Linked DNA regions of Homo sapiens: all the other regions are linked to region 1. Evidence: promoter capture Hi-C in human tissues and cell types (Jung and others, 2019). All regions are on one chromosome and are shown on one strand. The core of a region is centred on a gene start or on the middle of the fragment in contact, and the rest is flanking DNA. Distances in the headings are between cores, read along the strand shown.

Region 1 (3,708 bases), core at 403-2,902:
TTGTTTGTTTTTTTGTTTTTTACAGTGCAGTGTCAGGTTATTCTCTGCTTCCTCACATGTGAAATGTTCAGGAACACAAATCTTTTAAGAAGCCGGCCGGGCGCGGTGGTCACGCCTGTAATCCCAGCACTTTGGGAGGCCGAGGCGGGCGGATCACCTGAGGTCATGAGTTCGAGATGAGCTTGGCCAACATGGTGAAACCCCGTCGCTACTAAAAATACAAAAAATTAGCCGGGTGTGGTGGTGGGTGCCTGTAATTCCAGCTACTCGGGAGGGTGAGACAGGAGAATTTCTTGAACCCGGGAGGCGGAGGTTGCGGTGAGCCGACATCGCACCATTGCACTCCAGCCTGGGCAACAAGAGCACAACTCCATCTCAAAAAAAAAAAAAAGAAAGAAAGAAAAAAAGAAGCCATCCATTGCTCTCTGAAAACAAAATGAAAATTAAAATACTGGGACTCTGAAATTTAGCACGGGTGGGGCGGAGGAGGGAGGAGTTCATGATGTTGCTGTGAACTGAGGAGGGAAAGTTAGCCTGCGTAAGGCTCTGGAAACCAAGGGAGTTACTACCACCCCTAGGAGGAGTTAGAATGAGGGAACAGGGTAGTGGATTTGAGACCCTGCTACCCCCATCTCTGAAAAACTCGAAGAGGAATCAGTCACCCTGGGAAGAAAAGAAGGGACTGGGGACCCCGCAGACCACAGCTCCTCCCGTGCACAAACCCCACGCAAGAATCTGGATTCTGATTGCAGTTAGATATTAACCAGGTACCCTGAGCCCCACTGCCTCGCGGGGGCCGCCTTCCTGAGAGTCAGGTCACAGAAGACACTGACCGCCGGCTTCTGCATTGTGCCTGGGGATAAGATCTCGGAGAGCTGCTCGAGTTGCCCAAGTTCTTTCTCAGATCTTGAATTCCAACGGAAAGGCTGGCGCCAAGCAGGGTGAAAACCCCACGAGGGAACCCACTCAGCAGGAGAATGCGGTTTCTTCACCTCCCGTCCCAGGATTCGCCTGTCACTTCCCCACCAACCAGCGACCCCACACTTCAGCCGCCCCTGTCCAGACCCCTAAACACCCCCATCCCCAAACCTCTCATGGAGGCGGAACTGGGGTCTTCTCTCCTCTCCCCCTATTAAACTGTTTCTGCTGCAGGCCTTGGAGTCTCGGTGCAGTGACTCGGACCGCGAACCTGTGCCGGTTACAGCCGCACAATCTGGGAAGACGCGGAGCTGTGGGCATGGAGCTGCCCCAGAGAGGGCGCGGGAGCCGGGGCCGCAGTTGCTGCGCAGAAACGGGACAGGACGCCCGGGGTCCCGGCTGCCGGCCCAGCCCCCAGCTCCCACCCCGCGGCCGAGGGGACTGAAGGCCGGCTGGGCCAGGGGAACTCGGGTCCACAGACCCCGCAGTCGCCGCGGGGACGCCCGGGTCCCGCCACAGCCGGTTCTGGCCGGTTCCAACCAGTCCTTCGCCCTGCCCCAGGACGCCGGGCCCCGCACACTCACCATTTCCCGGCTTCCGCGGTGTCCCGTGTTCTCCCCAAGGTTCCCCGCTGCCAGCATAGGACTCAGCGTGACAGTGCCTGCCACTGACCTGCCAGGGCTTCTCTCAGCTACAGAGCCAGGAGCGGGAGCTCAGAGGGGTGTAGAAAGCTCCACCCTCCTCCCGGCAGCGCGCCTGACTGGCAGTTCCCAAGAACTCGCCCCCAACACTGATTGGGTAGAGCTCCAAATTCCGCCCCCCCAGGGAACTGATTGACAGAAGAAGGATCTTACACGGCTGAGTGGAGCGAGATGAAGCGGTTCCAGACACAGCCCTTGATAGGGTGGGCTTCCTCCCTTCGCTGTGACCTGACCCCTCCCAGGGGACATTTGCATTTAAGCGGAATTTCCTGCCTGTACTCAATGGGCTCTTCCTGCTCCTTCTTCCTGGACGGGGACCCACAAGTGTGTGCTGGGAATTCGAGACTCACTGCCCAGTGGAGCCATCCCCTGGCCTCAGAGCGGTAGGGGAGGCCCAGGCCACACAAACCACACTGAAGCAGGAGGGAAGGCCTGGTGTCCTCCAGGGATCAGGAATTTAGGATGAGACTGCTGGCTCCATGGTCAAGCCTTTCTCCCACCTTATCTCCCAATCTACTCATTCTCAGACCAGAAAATAAAAACACATCAACAATGAAATAAAATTGTTAAATGCATGGAAAATCTGGAATTATATGGCAGTAATCTTCTATAAAGGAATCAAAAGAAGGGAAAAGAAAAAACCTGAATTAGTTCAGAGAAATTTCAGCCACAGTTCAGCAGGAAACCCCCTTTCAGGAGGTTAAACATATTTTCAAGCTTAGAAGGCAGATTCTGACTCCTGAAGTTGAGTCCCAGAGTGTGTAACCAGCAGCTTAGCAGCTGAGTCTCAAACCACGTTTTAAACCTTTTTTTTCTTCTTCTTTCCCTTTTCCTCTTTCCCCTCCTGATCTCAAGATAATAACTTCGAGATAAACTGCATAGATGTTACCTCTCATCTTAAAATACAGCCTCAGAATGTGCTGTGAACTTCCACTCCCTTTCCTTTCCCATACTACACTGCCATGCCTTATGCACATTTATTTTTATTTTATTTTTTTGGAGACGGAGTCTCACTCTGTCACCCAGGACAGACTGTAGTGGCTCAATCTTGGCTCACTGCAACCTCCGCCTCCCAAGTTGAAGCAATTCTCCTGCCTCAGCCTCCCGAGTAGCACACTGGACTACAGGTGCACGCTGCCATGCCCAGCTAATTTTTTTGTATTTTAGTAGAGACAGGGTTTCACCATGTTGCCCAGGCTGGTCGTGAACTCCTGAGCTCAGGCAATCCGCCGGCCTCGGCCTCCCAAAGTGTTAGGATTACAGGCGTGAGCCACCACGCCTGGCCTGTGCACATTTATTTACCTAAATACTTATTAAGCACACACCATGCTCTCTTATTTGGTCATATATTTCCTTAGAAGCTTCAGGGGTTGGATCTTGTTAGGTACCAGGCACCTCTGGAATTCTCTTTCCAACAAAAGATTACTTCAAAGACAGAACCCACACCCAGCTGAAGAGTGACTACTATCGGGGAAACCAGCCCCCAATATTTCAACGTAGGTTCTATTTTCCCTAAGTGTCGGCCCATCTGAGAAATTAAGAGAAAGAGTACAAAGAGAAGAATTTTACAGCTGGGCCTCCAGGGGTGACATCACATATCGGCAGGTTCCATGATGCCCACCTGGGCTGCAAAACCAGCAAGTTTTTATTAGGGATTCTAATAGGGGAGGGGGTGTACGAACAGGGAGTAAGTCACAAAGATCACATGCCTCAAAGGGCAATAAAAGATCACAAGGCAAAGGCAAAATTAGAATTACTGATGAGGGTCTGTGTCCTGCTGTGCATGCACTGTCTTGATAAACATCTTAACAGGAAACAGGGTTCGAGAGCAGACAACCAGTCTGACTAGAATTTACCAGGCTGGAACTTCCCAATCCTAGTAAGCCTGAGGGCACTGCAGGAGACCAGGGCGTATTTCAGTCCTTATCTCAACTGCATTAAGACAGATACTCGCAGAGCAGCCATCTATAGACCTACCCCCAGGAATGCATTCCTTCCCCAGGGTCTCAATTATTATTATTATATATATTTTTTTGAGACAGAGTCTCACGCTCTGTCCCCCAGGCTGGAGTGCAGTGGCACAATCTCG
Region 2 (3,732 bases), core at 1,021-3,520, 50 kb before region 1:
TTTTAGTAGAGACGGGTTTCACCATGTTAGCCAGGATGGTCTCGATCTCCTGACCTCGTGATCCGCATGCCTCGGCCTCCCGAAGTGCTGGGATTACAGGCGTGAGCCACCGCACCCGGCCCACTTCTGTGGCTTCCCCCCCCCGCCATTTTCTCATGGTGCCAAAATTCACATAAGATAGAATTTACCTTGGCTGGGCACGGTGACTCACACCTGTAATCCCAGCACTTTGGGAGGCCAAGGCGGGAGGATCACGGGGTTCGAGACCAACCTGACCAATATGGAGAAACCCTGTCTCTACTAAAAATACAAAATTAGCTGGGTGTGGTGGCACATGCCTGTAATCCCAGCTACTCAGGAGGCTGAGGAAGAAGAAATCACTTGAACCTGGGAGGCAGAGATTGTGGTGAGCCAAGATAGCGCCATTGCACTCCAGCCTGGGCAACAAGAGCAAAACTCCATCTCAAAAAAAAAAAAAAAGATCTACAGGAAGGAGTTTCAGGCCAGCAAGGTCTGGCTTAGCTAGCTACACAATGCATTAGAGCTTCAAGAACTTGAAGAACATGGGAGAATTGGCCTTGGCTGATGCAAAGGAAACATCAGCATTCCTAGAAAAGCTCATGAAACTCATTAAAAAAAAAAAAAAAAAAGAGGCTAACTTCCAGAGCAAATCCTCCATTGTAATGAATCAGGCATGTTCTGGAAGAGGATGCCCAATTGTACCTTCATCACAAGAGTACAAAGAAAGCCTTGGGGTTCATGACTTGGAAAGATTGCCTTACTCTGGTGCTACGTGGCAATGCAGCAGGTCATAAGATCAAACAAAGCCTCCTCTACTAAGTAAACAATCCGTGGGTCCTTGAAAACAAAAGCGAAACTTGCCTGCCCGTGTCCTGACAAAAACACACGAGGACTTGGTTCTACCACTGCTTCATTCCTGATGTGAATGAATACCTTGAAAAGAAGGGGCTGCCACTCAAGGCCCTCCTCATAACTGACAACGCTCCTGGCATCTCTCTTCTCTCTGTTATGCCGATAAAAATGGGGAAGTGATGTTCCTGCCTCCTAAAACTACATCACTGCTACAACTACTTGATCAAAGCATCATCAAGTGCCTCAAGGTGTCTTACACCCACTGGACTTTTGGAAGGATTTATGCTGTCTTGATAATAACCCTCACCATGTCATACAGGATTTATGGAAGAGCTTCCCAACTGCAGAAACGATTGTGTTTATTGCGGAGGCTGTAAATGCCCTACAGCTCAAGACAGCCAAAGTGTGTTGGAAGCCATTATGGAGTGAGGAAGTCAATGATTTCAGGCGCTTCTGCACTATCGATATGATAGTCAGAAATATCTTAAATGTAAGGAAAGTTGGTGGGGAAGGCTATCTCTGACACAAGTGAAGACAATGTTGAGGAACACACAGAAGAGCAAAGAAGAAACCTTTACTAACAAGGAACTAGAAGATATGCTGAAATCCTCTATAGATGATGATGATGATGATGTAGATTTAGAAGAGGCAGTGCCGCCAGGCGTGGTGGCTCACGCCTGTAATCCCAACAGTTTGGGAGGCCGAAGCGGGTGAATCACCTGAGGTCACGAGTTTAAGACCAGCCTGGCCAACATGGTGAAACCCCGTCTCTACTAAAAATACAAAAATTAGCTGGGTGTGGTGGCGGGCACCTGTAATCCCAGCTACTTGGGAGGCTGAGGCATGAGAATCGCTTGAACCCAGGAGGCAGTGTTTGCAGTGAGCCGAGATCGTGCCACTGCACTCCAGCCTGGGTGACAGAGTGAGACTCAGTCTCAATAAATAAATAAAGAGGCAGTGCCATAAGTGGTGGCTCATGCCTGTAATCCCAGCATTCTGAGAGGCCAAGGCAGGCAGATCACTTGAAGTCACAGGGAGTTCAAAACCAGCTTGGCAAACATGGCGAAACCCTGTCTCTACTAAAAATACAAAAATTAGCTGGGCATGGTGGTGCATGCCTGTATTCCCAGCTACTTGGGTGGCTGAGGCAGGAGGATCACTTGAACTTGGGAGGTGGAGGTTGCAGTGAGCTGAGATTGTAATCCCAGCTCCTCAGGTGGCTGATGCAGGAGGATCACTTGAACCTGGGAGGTGGAGGCTGCAGTGAGCTGAGATTGCACCACTGCACTTCAGCCTCAGCGACAGAGTGAGACTCTGTCTGAAAAAAAAAAAAAGAAGCAGTGCTATAGATTTTGATACTTGAAAAATCTGAAGGCTGGGTGTGGTGGCTCACCCTGTAATCCTAGTAATTTGGGAGGCCAAGGCAGGCAGATCTCTTGATTCCAGGAGTTCAAGACCAGCCTGGGAAACATGGTGAAACCTTGTCTCCACAAAAAACACAAAAAGTAGCCAGGCATCGTGATGTGTGCCTATAATCCCAGCTACTTGGGAGGCTGAGGTGGGAAGATCACTTGAGCCCAGGAAGTTGAGGCTGCAGTGAGCCATGCACTGTAGGGTGACAGAGTGAGATCTTGTCTTAAAAAAAAAAAAAAAGAAAAGAAAAAGAAAAAAAAAGAAAAATTGGAAGCAGTTTTAGGGCACCTACAGCTTCTACAAGGCGCAAGTGTTAAAGATTATCATCCTCAATTAAGATTCTTCCATGGAACAAAGCCTCCATGTCACCCCAGAGATTACATGCTCACAAACGTTGCAAAGTTTAAAAAAAAAAAAACTAGCTTCCTACAATGTTTCTAATTAAATATCTGCAAATATGAAGACAGCCTTCAATGCTTAAAGATCTTCAGTCCTCAAATTGAACAGATTCTGACATTAGTATTATTTAGACTGCTCCAAAAATTCAGTATCTGCAGTCAGAATCTGTTTCTTCCAATATAGTTGATCATGTTGACATCCTGTCAAGATTCGAGTTAGCCTGAGGTCTCACTGCTTATCTGTGGTGTCACACATCTAGCTGACTCAACACATCACAACATTAGGCACGATATTGCAATAATCATCATTACACTTTTGTTGGGTGAATGTTAACACATTTTCAGGTCATTAAACAAAAGCAATCTATGAGTGTTGAAAGAAAAGATTTATAATGCTCTAGGTGACATGTATTATGTGGGTGGGTCTGTACTGAATATGTGTAGGGTCTTTCTCATATCATGATTCACTAAACAATATAATAACAACTATTTACATAGCTTCTATGATGCATGATGTATTTTAACTAATCTACAGATGATTTAGAGTATACAGGAGGATGTGGGTAGGTTACATGCAAATATTTTTTATTGTTATTATTTTTTTGAGACAGGGTCTCATTCTGTTGCCCATGCTAGAATGCAGTGATGTGATTTTGACTCACCGCAACCTCAACCTCCCAGGCTCAAGCGATCCTCCCACCTCAGCTTCCCTAGTAGCTGGGACTACAGGTACATGTCACCACACCTGGCTAATTTGTGTATCTTCTGTAGAGACAGGGTTTTGCCACATTACCCAGGCTGGCCTCTAACTCCTGGGCTCAAGTGATCCACCTGTCTTGGGCTCCTAAGGTGCTAGGATTACAGAGGTGAGCAACTGTGTCTAACCCAAATATGTCTTTTCTTTCTTTCCTTTTTTTTTTTTTTTGTGTGTGTGACAGAGGTTGTTTTGCTCTTGCTGCCCAGGCTGGAGTGCAGTGGCGCGATCTTGGCTCACCGCAACCTCCGCCTCCCGGATTCAAGTGATTATCCTGCCTCAGCCTCCTGAGTA
Region 3 (3,702 bases), core at 625-3,124, 60 kb after region 1:
AACATTGATTACATACTTATTATCAGAAACAATGCAAACAGGAAGACAATGGAGTAACATCCTTAAAGAACTAAAAGAACAAGGATATCAACAAAGAATCTTATATTGAGCAAATAATATCTTTCCAAATGAATGGAAAATACTTTATTTAGTCATAATAAATGTGTTTGCAATCAGCATATTGGCTCATTGAGAAAGGTACAGCCGGGTGTGGTGGCTCACGCCTGTAACCTGAGCATTTTGATAGGCTGAGGTGGGTGGATCACCTGAGGTCAGGATTTCAAGATCAGCCTGGCCAACATGGTAAAACCCCATCTCTACTATAAACACAAAAATTAGCTAGGTGTGGTGGCGCATACCTGTAGTCCCAGCTACTTAGGAGGCTGAGGCAGAAGAATCACTTGAACCCAGGAGGCGGAGGATGCAGTGAGCCAAGATCGTGTCACTGCACTCCAGCCTCGGCGACAGAGTGAGATTCCGTCTCAAAAAAATAAAGGTCCAGCTGGGTGCAGTGGCTCATGCCTGTAATTGCGACACTTTGTGACGCCGAGGCGGGAGAATTGCTTGAGTCCAGAAGTTCAAGACCAGCTTGAGCAACACGGCAAGACTCCATCTCTACAAAAAAATTAAAATGGCATGGTAGTATGTGCCCGTCCAGATCACTGAATCCGTAAAAAAAGAAAAACAGGCCAGGTGCGGTGGCTCATGCCTGTAATCCCAGCAGTTTGGGAGGTCGAAGCAGGCAGATCACCTGAAGTCAGGAGTTCGAGACCAGCCTGACAAACATGGTAAGATCCCATCTCTACTAAACATACAAAAATTAGCTGGGCGTGGTGGCGGGCACCTGTAATCCCAGCTACTCGGGACGCTGAGGCAGGGGAATCACTTGAACCCGGGAGGTGGAGAAAGCAGTGAGCCACGAGATCATGCCATTGTACTCCAGCCTGGGTGAGACAATGAGATTCCATCTCAAAAACAAAGGAAAACAAAACAAAAACCAAACAAACAAAAACCAAACTGGCTGTCTTACTACTGGGGTGGCTGAGTAAGTCCTCTAAACTACTATTCCTATCAAATGGTCCTTGGACACACCCTTAGAGTTTTCTCTTCCCAAGATGATTTTTCATCTTGGTAATATGGATAGACTGGGAATTTTCCAAATCTTTTTGTTTCAGTTCCATCTTAATAATTCCATCTCCAGTCAAGTCTTTCCTCACATTAGTATATGCAGTCAAGAGGAACCAAGCTGCCTTTTTCAACACTTCTTAGAAATGTTGTCAACTCAATATCCAATTTCATCACTTCCTAGTTCTACTTTCCACAAAACTAGCACAGGACCACGATACACAAAGTTCTCTGCCACTTTATAAGAAGAAATCAACTTTTCTCCATTGTGTAATAACATTAACCTCAATTCTCTTTTTACATATATTTTAGTTTGTTTCAGAAACAGGGTCTCACTCTCTCTCCAGCCCAGGCTGGAGTGCAGTAGCATGACCTAGCTTACTGCAGCCTTGAACTCCTGGGCTCAAGTGATCTGGTGACCTCAGCCTCCCTGGTAGCTATGACTACAGGCATATACCACCAAGCCTAGCTAAATTTTCCTTTTTTCTTTTTTTGTAAGGATGAGGTCTCACCATGTTGCCCAGACTGGTCTTGAACTCCAGGCCTCGGTTGGGCATGGTGGCACACACCTGAAGTCCCAGCTACTTGGGAGGCCTGAGGCAGGAGGATCTGTTGAGCTTAGGAGTCGGAGGTGGCAATGAGCTATAATCACGCCACTGCACTCCAGCCTGGGCAACAAATTGAGATCCCCATTTCCAGGAAGGAAGGGAAAGGAGAGGAGGGGAGGGGAGGAAGAAGAGAAGAGAAGGGAAGGGAAAGGGGAAGGAGAAGGGGAAGGGGAAAAGGAAGAGGAAGGGGAAGGGGGAAAATCCAAGCCTCAAGCGATCCTCCCATCTTGGCCATTCAAAGTACTGCCATAACAGGCATGAGCGACCATGCACATTCCACTTTCATTTTTGAGGATCCACTCTCATAATCTAACCTAATCCTTATCATATCTCAAAGAAACCATTGCCTAATACTGCCACATCAGGGAAGTGGAAAAATAAATAAAATTTTCTACAAACATTTATTCCATAACAAGTGATTAGTAGCTTTTTATCATTTTCTAAATACTCTTCATGTTAATCCCTTATCAGATATATAATTTGGAAATGGTTTCTCCCATTCTATGGGTTACCCATTTACTCTGTTAATATTGCCTTTTGATGCCAAAGGTCCACAAAATCCAAATTATTCTTTCCCTTGTGGGTCATGCTTTTGGTGCCAAATCTAGGAAATCATTGCCAAATTCACTGTAATACAGCTTTTGCCATGTATTTTCATCTAACAGTTATACAGCTAAGATGGACACTCACATATTTCGTTCATTTTAACTTCTGTACATGTTAGGTATGGGTACAACGTCATCCTGTTGCATGTGGATGTGCATTGCCCAACAGCATCATTCTACAGAAACATTAAGCTATCCCCCATTGAATAGTCACAGCAGACTTTTCAGTAATTGTTAGACTTTATGTAAATTATTAGACTTTATTAGACTTTCTGTGTTATCTTGTTGCATTGTCTATTTCTGCGTTATTACGCTAGTACCAAACAGTTTTTATTAGTATGGATTTGTAATAAGTTTTGAAATCAGGAAGTGTGAGTTCACCAACTTTGTTCTGGCTTTTTTTTTTTTTTTTTTTGAGACAGAGTCTCGCCCTGTTGCCCAGGCTGGAGTGCAGTGGCATGATCTCAGCTCACTGCAACCTCCACCTCTCAGGCTCAAGTGATTCCCCTGCCTCAGCCTCCTGAGTAGCTGGGATTACAGGTACGCGCCACCATGCCCGACTAATTTTTGTATTTTTAGTAGAGATGCGATTTCACCATGTTGGTCAGGCTAGTCTCCAACTCCTGACCTCATGATCCACCTGCCTCAGCCTCCCAAAGCGGTGGGATTACAGATGTGAGCCACCACATCTGGCCATTGTTCTGGCTTTTGAAGACTGTTTTGTTCATTCAGAGACCCTTGAGATGTCATATATAAAAAAATAAAAAATGTTAAAAAATGGCTCCTAAGAAGGAATCAAGTGGTCAAACCTATCCCTAAAAGGCTAGCAGGGGACAAAAAGTGGTATCTCTCAATAAGAAAATACAAACCTAAGATGTTTTGAAAAGTGGTGTATCACCTTGGAAAGTTCGTCATAAGGTAAGAACAAACCAAGAAATCACACACTAAAGCAGAGAGAAGCTGAAGTTCCTCAAAGTGTTAGAGCTGCCCCTACAGTGGCAAAAATGATCCCTCTAGTTCATGATAAACTAAGGATAAGCATTAAGTGTGTGGCTAGAGGACACGTCACAGAACCACAGCCCTACTGATGGTAACATCATACTTGAAAAAACACTTAGCCAGGCCAAGCGCAGTGGCTCACTCCTGTAATCCCAGCACTTTGGGAGGCCAAGGCGGGTGGATCACAAGGTCAGGAGTTCGAGATCAGCCTGACCAACATGGTGAAACCCAGTCTCTACTCAAAAGACAGCTGGGTGTGGTGGCGCGCACATGTAATCCCAGCTACTCAGAAGGCTGAGGCAGGAGAATCACTTGAACCCGGGAGGTGGGGGTTGCAGTGAGCCAAGATCACGCCACTGTACTCC

The links. The method cuts DNA at HindIII sites, captures the fragments that hold promoters and counts their contacts. A contact is called where the count stands out against the background at its distance.
Region 2: a fragment that was not itself captured here is called in contact with the fragment with the promoter of ZNF442 in region 1 in 6 of the 25 tissues and cell types used here (H1 embryonic stem cells, aorta, liver and 3 more).
Region 3: a contact is called between a fragment that was not itself captured here and the fragment with the promoter of ZNF442 in region 1, in 2 of the 25 tissues and cell types used here (mesenchymal stem cells and small bowel).

Annotation. Positions count from the first base shown.
Region 1 is chr19:12,364,031-12,367,738 of GRCh38, forward strand. It overlaps ZNF442 (zinc finger protein 442), which reads right to left and starts at 1,653. Exons shown (of 6, transcript NM_030824.3): 1 at 1,503-1,653; 2 at 772-1,213. RefSeq lists a silencer at 1,187-1,366 and an enhancer at 1,467-1,566. The HindIII fragment of the contact is 16,775 bases long and covers 1-2,658 here.
Region 2 is chr19:12,313,883-12,317,614 of GRCh38, forward strand. It overlaps ZNF563 (zinc finger protein 563), which reads right to left. Exons shown (of 4, transcript NM_145276.3): 4 at 3,595-3,732. Among named protein-coding and RNA genes, the nearest start is that of ZNF563, 18 kb to the right of the region's middle. The HindIII fragment of the contact is 6,161 bases long and covers 1-3,732 here.
Region 3 is chr19:12,424,154-12,427,855 of GRCh38, forward strand. No RefSeq gene overlaps it. Among named protein-coding and RNA genes, the nearest start is that of ZNF443, 15 kb to the right of the region's middle. The HindIII fragment of the contact is 8,163 bases long and covers 1-3,702 here.